Linked DNA regions of Homo sapiens: region 1 is linked to region 2. The links are contacts of gene promoters, found by promoter capture Hi-C in blood cells and fetal thymus (Javierre and others, 2016). All regions are on one chromosome and are shown on one strand. The core of a region is centred on a gene start or on the middle of the fragment in contact, and the rest is flanking DNA. Distances in the headings are between cores, read along the strand shown. Region 1 overlaps OR1D2 (olfactory receptor family 1 subfamily D member 2). Region 2 holds the start of OR1G1 (olfactory receptor family 1 subfamily G member 1).

The links. Contacts are between HindIII fragments. The CHiCAGO score rates a contact against its expected background, and 5 or more counts as called.
Region 1: a contact is called between a fragment that was not itself captured here and the fragment with the promoter of OR1G1 in region 2, in 1 of 17 cell types (endothelial precursors). The highest score is 5.3, in endothelial precursors.

What each region holds. Positions count from the first base shown.
Region 1 is chr17:3,089,045-3,092,866 of GRCh38, reverse strand. OR1D2 (olfactory receptor family 1 subfamily D member 2) reads left to right here. Exons shown (of 2, transcript NM_002548.3): 2 at 1-3,822. The coding sequence ends at 809. Among named protein-coding and RNA genes, the nearest start is that of OR1D2, 13 kb to the left of the region's middle. The HindIII fragment of the contact is 878 bases long and covers 1,518-2,395 here.
Region 2 is chr17:3,124,891-3,128,991 of GRCh38, reverse strand. It overlaps OR1G1 (olfactory receptor family 1 subfamily G member 1), which reads left to right and starts at 1,441. Exons shown (of 1, transcript NM_003555.1): 1 at 1,441-2,382. The coding sequence starts at 1,441. The coding sequence ends at 2,382. The HindIII fragment of the contact is 3,090 bases long and covers 406-3,495 here.

The DNA.
Region 1 (3,822 bases), core at 707-3,206, 37 kb after region 2:
TCATCATCCTGGCCATCAGCTCTGATTCCCGCCTGCACACCCCCGTGTACTTCTTCCTGGCCAACCTCTCCTTCACTGACCTCTTCTTTGTCACCAACACAATCCCCAAGATGCTGGTGAACCTCCAGTCCCATAACAAAGCCATCTCCTATGCAGGGTGTCTGACACAGCTCTACTTCCTGGTCTCCTTGGTGGCCCTGGACAACCTCATCCTGGCTGTGATGGCATATGACCGCTATGTGGCCATCTGCTGCCCCCTCCACTACACCACAGCCATGAGCCCTAAGCTCTGTATCTTACTCCTTTCCTTGTGTTGGGTCCTATCCGTCCTCTATGGCCTCATACACACCCTCCTCATGACCAGAGTGACCTTCTGTGGGTCACGAAAAATCCACTACATCTTCTGTGAGATGTATGTATTGCTGAGGATGGCATGTTCCAACATTCAGATTAATCACACAGTGCTGATTGCCACAGGCTGCTTCATCTTCCTCATTCCCTTTGGATTCGTGATCATTTCCTATGTGCTGATTATCAGAGCCATCCTCAGAATACCCTCAGTCTCTAAGAAATACAAAGCCTTCTCCACCTGTGCCTCCCATTTGGGTGCAGTCTCCCTCTTCTATGGGACACTTTGTATGGTATACCTAAAGCCCCTCCATACCTACTCTGTGAAGGACTCAGTAGCCACAGTGATGTATGCTGTGGTGACACCCATGATGAATCCCTTCATCTACAGCCTGAGGAACAAGGACATGCATGGGGCTCTGGGAAGACTCCTAGATAAACACTTTAAGAGGCTGACATGAGGGCAATTTGGAAAGACAGCATTAAAGTGGAGACTAGGAATATCCTTCACCCTATGTAAGGGATTGTCCTGTGTGTTATACAGCAGTGATTGGGACATGGCTCCAGCTCAGAGACAGCATATAGATATGTGGTGATAAAAAAGACATATTTGTAACCTGGTGTCCCCCAGGTCTCATCAGCCTTGGCCGTAAATAAGGTCACACTAACACCAACACTAGAATGTTGCAGGGTCAAATTCTTCAATGTACTTGACTACAGGGCCACATTCTTGGCCTTATCTGACTATATCCAGTTTAAACCTAGAAGTGTCTCTCATCTAGCACACATCCAAAGTACAGAAAGTAAATAGTAGCTGATAAGAAAGTTAGTCACATGGCTGTGGAGGTTTGAAAGAGATTGCAATCATACATATTTGTATCAGCTGATCCAGCACGTGATATAGACCTCGACAGGTGGTGTTCAATTCATTTGACATTCATGCAGTCATTCATCAACTCATTCTATTCATAATGACAGTGTACAGAGGCCTCAAACTGGGTTACAAATGTGAGGTCACAGTCTACTCGGGGAAGTACATAAATTTACATTAAACATAAATGGACCTAACTCATCAATTAAAAAGTAATGTTCAACATACTGATTAAAAAATAAAATATAGATAGATGTATTTAAAGAGACACGATGAAAGCACAGGAATATATAAAGCTTGAAATTAAAAAGAGAAACAGACATATTTGGAAAATACTAAATATTTTAAGTGAAATATTGCTGCAATGACATCAGGTAAAAGATATTTCAAAACGGGTGAAAGGAGTGATGTCAACAAGATGGTGGAATCGACAGTTGTATCTCTCATCCACCAACATACAGACTAATTTATCAACCATCCACAGATGAAAATACCTTTGTGAGAGCTCCAGAATCCAAGTGAAAGTTTATAGCACCCTGGTAGTACACAGAAGTAGAAAAAACACCATATTGAACATTGTAGAAAAAACTCTGTCACATTACCTGAATCACCCCTCACCCAAGCCAGCACAGAGTAGCACAAAGAGAGATCCCCTCATCTCATGAGTTCTTCCATAAGTAAAAAAGAAAATAAAACATATGTACAACTTCCCCTGACTTTCAGGATGCTAACCAAGAGGACCACTTCTGTCATGCCTCACCAAGAATACTGAGGCAATTCACATGGCCAGACCCCTCTGAGTAGCTAAGAACAAGAAAAAAAAAAAATAAGAAAATGGTTGGGAGCTCTTAATAGTCAGTATGTGTATTTTAACAACTGGGGCCTTGCACCCTACAGTGGGCCTGTGCATGGTGCCCAGAAGCTGGCCCATCCACCCACATCCCCAAGCACTAGGCCTGCCTGCCCATAGACCCTGCCAACTGGCCAGCCCAGAATATCTGGCTAAGCTGACTGGTGAAAAACAGTTCCTATCAAATTGGACTTTCCCTATCAAAACCAGCCTGTAAAGACTAAAAGAGATGACTGCTTCTTCAAATGTGCAAACACAAATGTGAAGCTACAGGAAACACAAGGAATCAAGGAAACTTAGCAAAGCCAAAGGAACAAAATAAAGCTTCAGAAACCATCAAAGAAATGGAGAAATATGAACTGCCTGACAAAGAATTCAAGTGATCATTTGAAGAAACATGGTGACCCACACAAAAACACAGGTAAACTACTAAACAAAATCAGGAAATCAATACATAAATAAAATGTAAATTTCAACAAACAGAAACCACAAAAAAGAAACAGTAATTCTGGAGCTAAATAATACAATGACTAAACTTTAAAAAACTCAAAAGAGCTTCAGCAGCAGATATGAAGAAACAGAAGAAAGAATTCACTACTCAAAAACAGGTCATTTGAAAGTACTAGTAAGAGAAACAAATGGAAAAAGAGTGAAGAAAGCCTATGGGACATATGGGACCCATCAAACAAATACACACATTACATAAGTATCAGAAGGAAAAGTGAAAGAAAAGGAGGCAGAAAACTTATTTTTCTAAAAATGGCTATTCACAGCAGCCACCACAGGCAGGAAAACAGAAACCTGAAAGTGCTGCTTGCTTTCTCAACAGGGAGACTTGCAGCCTGGAACAAGTTTTCAGCCCTGCTCACCAGCTACCCGGAAATAAACTCAGCACTGTTAGGGGTAGGGCACATTGGGAGTGACATGGCCACTTGGACAGCATGGGAGCTGGGTGAGGCCTATCACTGCTGGCTTTCCACCACTTCCCTGGCAACCTGTATGACACAGCAGAGGCAGCCATAATCCCCATGGGAACATAACTTCATTGGCCTGTTAACCACACCCCCATCCCTCACAGTGGCCACAGCAAGCCCCACCGAAGGAGAGTCGGAGCTCACACATGCCTAACCCTGCCCCAACCTAATGGTCTTTCTCTACGCACCCTGGTAGCCGAAGACAAAGGGCATAATCTCTTGGGAGCTCTATGGTCCCACTCACCACCTGAGAAACTGGAATACTTATCCAGGCCACCTTAGGGCAAGTTTGTATCCCCCCTATGCTACCACAGCTGGTGCACTCTTGAAAGGACCACCTCTTGGCTGGAGGCCAACTAGTACACTAAACAAAACTTCAACCAAGGACCATAGACTCCTAGATAAACACTTGGACCATGAGAGTTCACTTTACTCCACTGCTACCTCCACTGGACCAGGCACTGGTATCCATGCCTGAGGGACTGAAGACAGATCACATCACAGGACTCTTCACAGACACCCCCCAGTACCAGCTCAGAGCCCAGAAGCTCTGTTGGATGGCTAGACCAGCAGAGAAATAACAATCATTGCAGTTTGGCTCTCAGGAAGCCCCATCCCCAGGAGATGGGGTAGAGCCCCATATCAAGGGGGGATCCCATGGACAAAAACAATCTGATAAGTAGCCCTTGAGCCCCAGATCTTCCTTCTGACATAGTCTACCCAAATGAGAAGGAACCAGAAAAACAAATCTGGTAATATGACAAAACAAGGTTCTTTAA
Region 2 (4,101 bases), core at 192-2,691:
CTCCATCTCAAAAATCATAACAATAATAATAAAGGTTCAGGCTAATTCTTATGCCTGATATTACCTCTATAGCAAAGCCCCTTTCCATTCTTCCCACTCTTTCCATTCTCTGGGGTTTATGTATTTACATGATAGATTCATACTGAGCATCTGTGTTGTACCAGCCTCAAGGCTAATGCTAGATTTCAAAGCTGAGCCAATTAGGCACCATCTCTGCCTACTCCCAGTGATGCTCACAGCAGAATGAGGGACACTCATATAAACAGACACTCAGAATCCAAGGTGACACGTGCTGTGATGGGGGAGGCACTGCATTAGGAAGGTCACGAACCTGAGTTTCTGGTGAGAGGATGAGTTGGGAAAGACTTCCCAGAAGAGGTGACATCTAAGGTGAGACCTGAAGCTTAGCTCGTCTGATAAATGGGATGGGAAAAACTATTTCAGCCTGAGAAAGCCTAAAGGTGAGGGAGTATCTGGGCCTTTAAAATAATTGAAACTATGATTAGTGCATAAAGTGTGGAGTGGAGGAGGGAGTTTCATGAGGAACTGGGGATGTCTGTAATAAATGACGGTAAGATCCAGGACATTCAGCCGTGTTCAGTTTAGAGTTTATCCTGGGAGTAATGAGGAGTGTATGAAGGATTTTTCAAGCAGAAAGACAAGAGTCGAATTTGATTTTTAGCAAGCCTATTCTCTGTGTATTTAGAACAGCAGGTGGCAGGTGGGCATACCTGGGGGCATGGAGATCAACTGCCCAAATCCAAGTGAGAAATCACAGTGCCCTGAATGACATGAGCTGCAGCTGGGACTGATGGTGACCAGTAAACAGAGAGACGTCAGTAAATTGTAGCCATATTGAGAAGGTAAAATTGCCAGGCTTTGGTGGTGGTTGGATGTAGGCAGGGAGGGAGAAACGTGGGTCAATAATGACGCTCAGGTTTCTGGCCAGACCCGCTGTGTAGATAACAGTGATAATGATTTCCATGTTAGCCATGCTTTTCCCAATTCCAAAACCCCTTTCCAGGAGCTGTCTTTTTAATTATTGGTACAATGGGCTCATTTGACCTGTAAAATCTTGGGTTGTATAAATGTCATAGTTTCTACATGAACACTACCAGAGCAAAGCCAGCAAGCCCCTCCAGCCCAGCCCCAAAATACACATATTGGCTTAATGCTTATGGAATAAATTTAAAAGCCTCTCATTGCATTACAAACAAATCTGTGGTTTCTCATAGCACCAAGCACAGGAATTTGCAAATATTTAGTCGAACCCTATGAAATGGCCATTTTTGCAGGTCCCAAAGAGTCAAATAGTGGAGATTTCCTATGATCCAACCTCACACTAGAAGATCAACACTGGAATATTGCATAATTTTCAGAGTTCACAATCCAGGGCTTACCAACGTCACCCAATTAACCCAACTTTCTTCCTACAGACAAATGGAGGGGAAAAATCTGACCAGCATCTCAGAATGTTTCCTCCTGGGGTTCTCTGAGCAGCTGGAGGAGCAGAAGCCCCTCTTTGGGTCCTTCCTGTTCATGTACTTGGTCACGGTGGCAGGCAACCTCCTCATCATTCTAGTCATCATTACTGACACTCAACTCCATACCCCCATGTACTTCTTTCTAGCCAACCTCTCCCTTGCAGATGCCTGCTTTGTGTCCACCACAGTCCCTAAGATGCTGGCAAACATACAGATCCAGAGTCAGGCCATCTCCTACTCAGGGTGTCTACTACAGTTGTATTTTTTCATGTTATTTGTGATGCTGGAGGCATTCCTCTTGGCGGTCATGGCCTATGACTGCTACGTGGCCATATGCCACCCACTTCATTACATTCTGATCATGAGCCCTGGGCTCTGCATCTTCCTCGTGTCTGCATCCTGGATCATGAATGCCCTCCACTCCCTTCTACACACACTTCTGATGAACAGCCTGTCCTTCTGCGCAAACCATGAGATCCCACACTTCTTCTGTGACATCAATCCCCTCCTGAGTCTGTCCTGCACAGACCCCTTCACCAATGAGCTGGTGATCTTCATCACTGGGGGTCTCACAGGACTCATTTGTGTGCTTTGCCTGATTATCTCTTACACGAACGTTTTCTCGACCATCCTGAAGATCCCATCAGCTCAGGGGAAGCGGAAAGCCTTTTCCACCTGCAGCTCTCATCTCTCCGTGGTCTCTCTCTTCTTTGGGACTTCTTTTTGTGTTGATTTCAGTTCTCCCTCAACCCACTCGGCCCAGAAGGACACAGTTGCATCAGTGATGTACACAGTGGTAACTCCAATGTTGAATCCCTTTATCTACAGTTTGAGGAACCAAGAAATAAAGTCTTCCCTGAGAAAGTTAATCTGGGTTCGGAAAATTCATTCCCCTTAGTGGTAGTGACTTGACATCCAATATGGGGGTCTCCATGCACCTGCGTTCACCACAGTAAGCAGTGAAGAATGAAAGATGGAGAGAATCTAGAGACCTCTGTTCCAGTACCTACGATCTGAACCTGAAATATTCATGTCTAAGCTACAGGACTGCATCATAACCCATCATCAGGCCAATGTCACAGGTGAAGTTCTTACAATTATGTTCTAAAACCACAGCCATCCAGATGTATAATATAATGTCATGCCTTATTATATTTACTATAGTTAATAATATTGATGATTTAATAATGTTATTAGTTAATGCTTTTTAAACAACATGGGACAGCTCATGACTGAAATAAGGGAATATCTGGCTGGGCTGTTGTATAGGGCCAAGAATAAAATTCAGGGAAGGACGACCTTCCCCCAGCATCACTGTGATCCTGATCACTCGGATCCCCACCCACAGTGTTTCTGCCACAGGCACTGCCCGTATCTGTGATGCTCCCATGCTCAGTGATGAGGAACTGGGTCTAGGAAGGGCTTGATGGAGATGGCATCTTCAGACAGACTCACTGCAGTGTCTTACCAGGCCTCCAAGACCCATAATCCTCCTGCCACCTTAGACTTCATGTGAAAACCTCAGGTTCCTCTTCAGGGCAATTTTTTCCACACTCATTTCATCTCTGCAGCCCCAATGCTTACCACATGGCGTAATGCCTGGTACCATTGATAGGTGCTGAATCCCACTGAAATGGTTACAACTTAAAGTTAGGGGAAAAGAATGATTTTTATGGACACTTTATGCTCTCCTGCCTGAATGATTAAAGCCTCCTCCTAGTTGGTCTTCAGTCCTCAGTCTACCCGCCTTCCATCAACTCTGTACACCATAATCAGATTAATCTTCATAGGGTACCATTATATCACTAAGAGAAATGTCCAGTGGCTTGAAACTGCCTGCAGAATCAACTTCCAGCTGTTTACCGTAGCATGCGAGCCCAGTGCCACCAGTTCATAACTGATGTCCACAGTTAACCACACTCTTCCGTATTTCTCCCAAGGTCAACTCAGGCCAACGGTTTCAGAATACATTGATTATTGTGCATGGTTGCCAAAAACGACTTGGAAAGCTTTGTCAGTAGACGTTGTGGCAAGACTCTGTACAGTACGTTACAGCCACAACCAATACGTTTCTATAGGAAAATAAAATGTCACAACTGGGTGCTGTTTTTCATTCTTGTTGTCTGTTTACCTTCAGGTATCTGACTGCAGGCTGCTGTGCCATAGATGGTAATTGCTGTAGATAATAGCAATTCTAGCTCACCAGCTCCCTATTCACCTTATCTGAAGCCCAGACACGATCGTCTGATAATAAAAGGTAGTAGAGCAAAGTGGTAAGCAGCGTGGACGCTGTGGAATCAAGTTCAAACCCCGGCTTTGCCACGTTTAAGCTGTGTGATCCTAGGAAATTATTTAATGTTTGGAAAAAAAAAAAAAAAAGAAAAAGCCTACCTCATTGTGTTGTAAGTTTAAATATGATAATATATGTAAAGCATTCTCTGTGATAATTAAATGAAATGTGCATAAATACACATACAGGGTTAACTCCTAGTACGTAGTGTATTTTCAATCGGTGTCAGCCATTGAGGTAGAAGCTCTGAAGCAGGTTCACTGTGCACCGGTTACCAACTTGTCCGAGTCGAGTGAAACAGAACACCCACACAGACAACAAGTGACA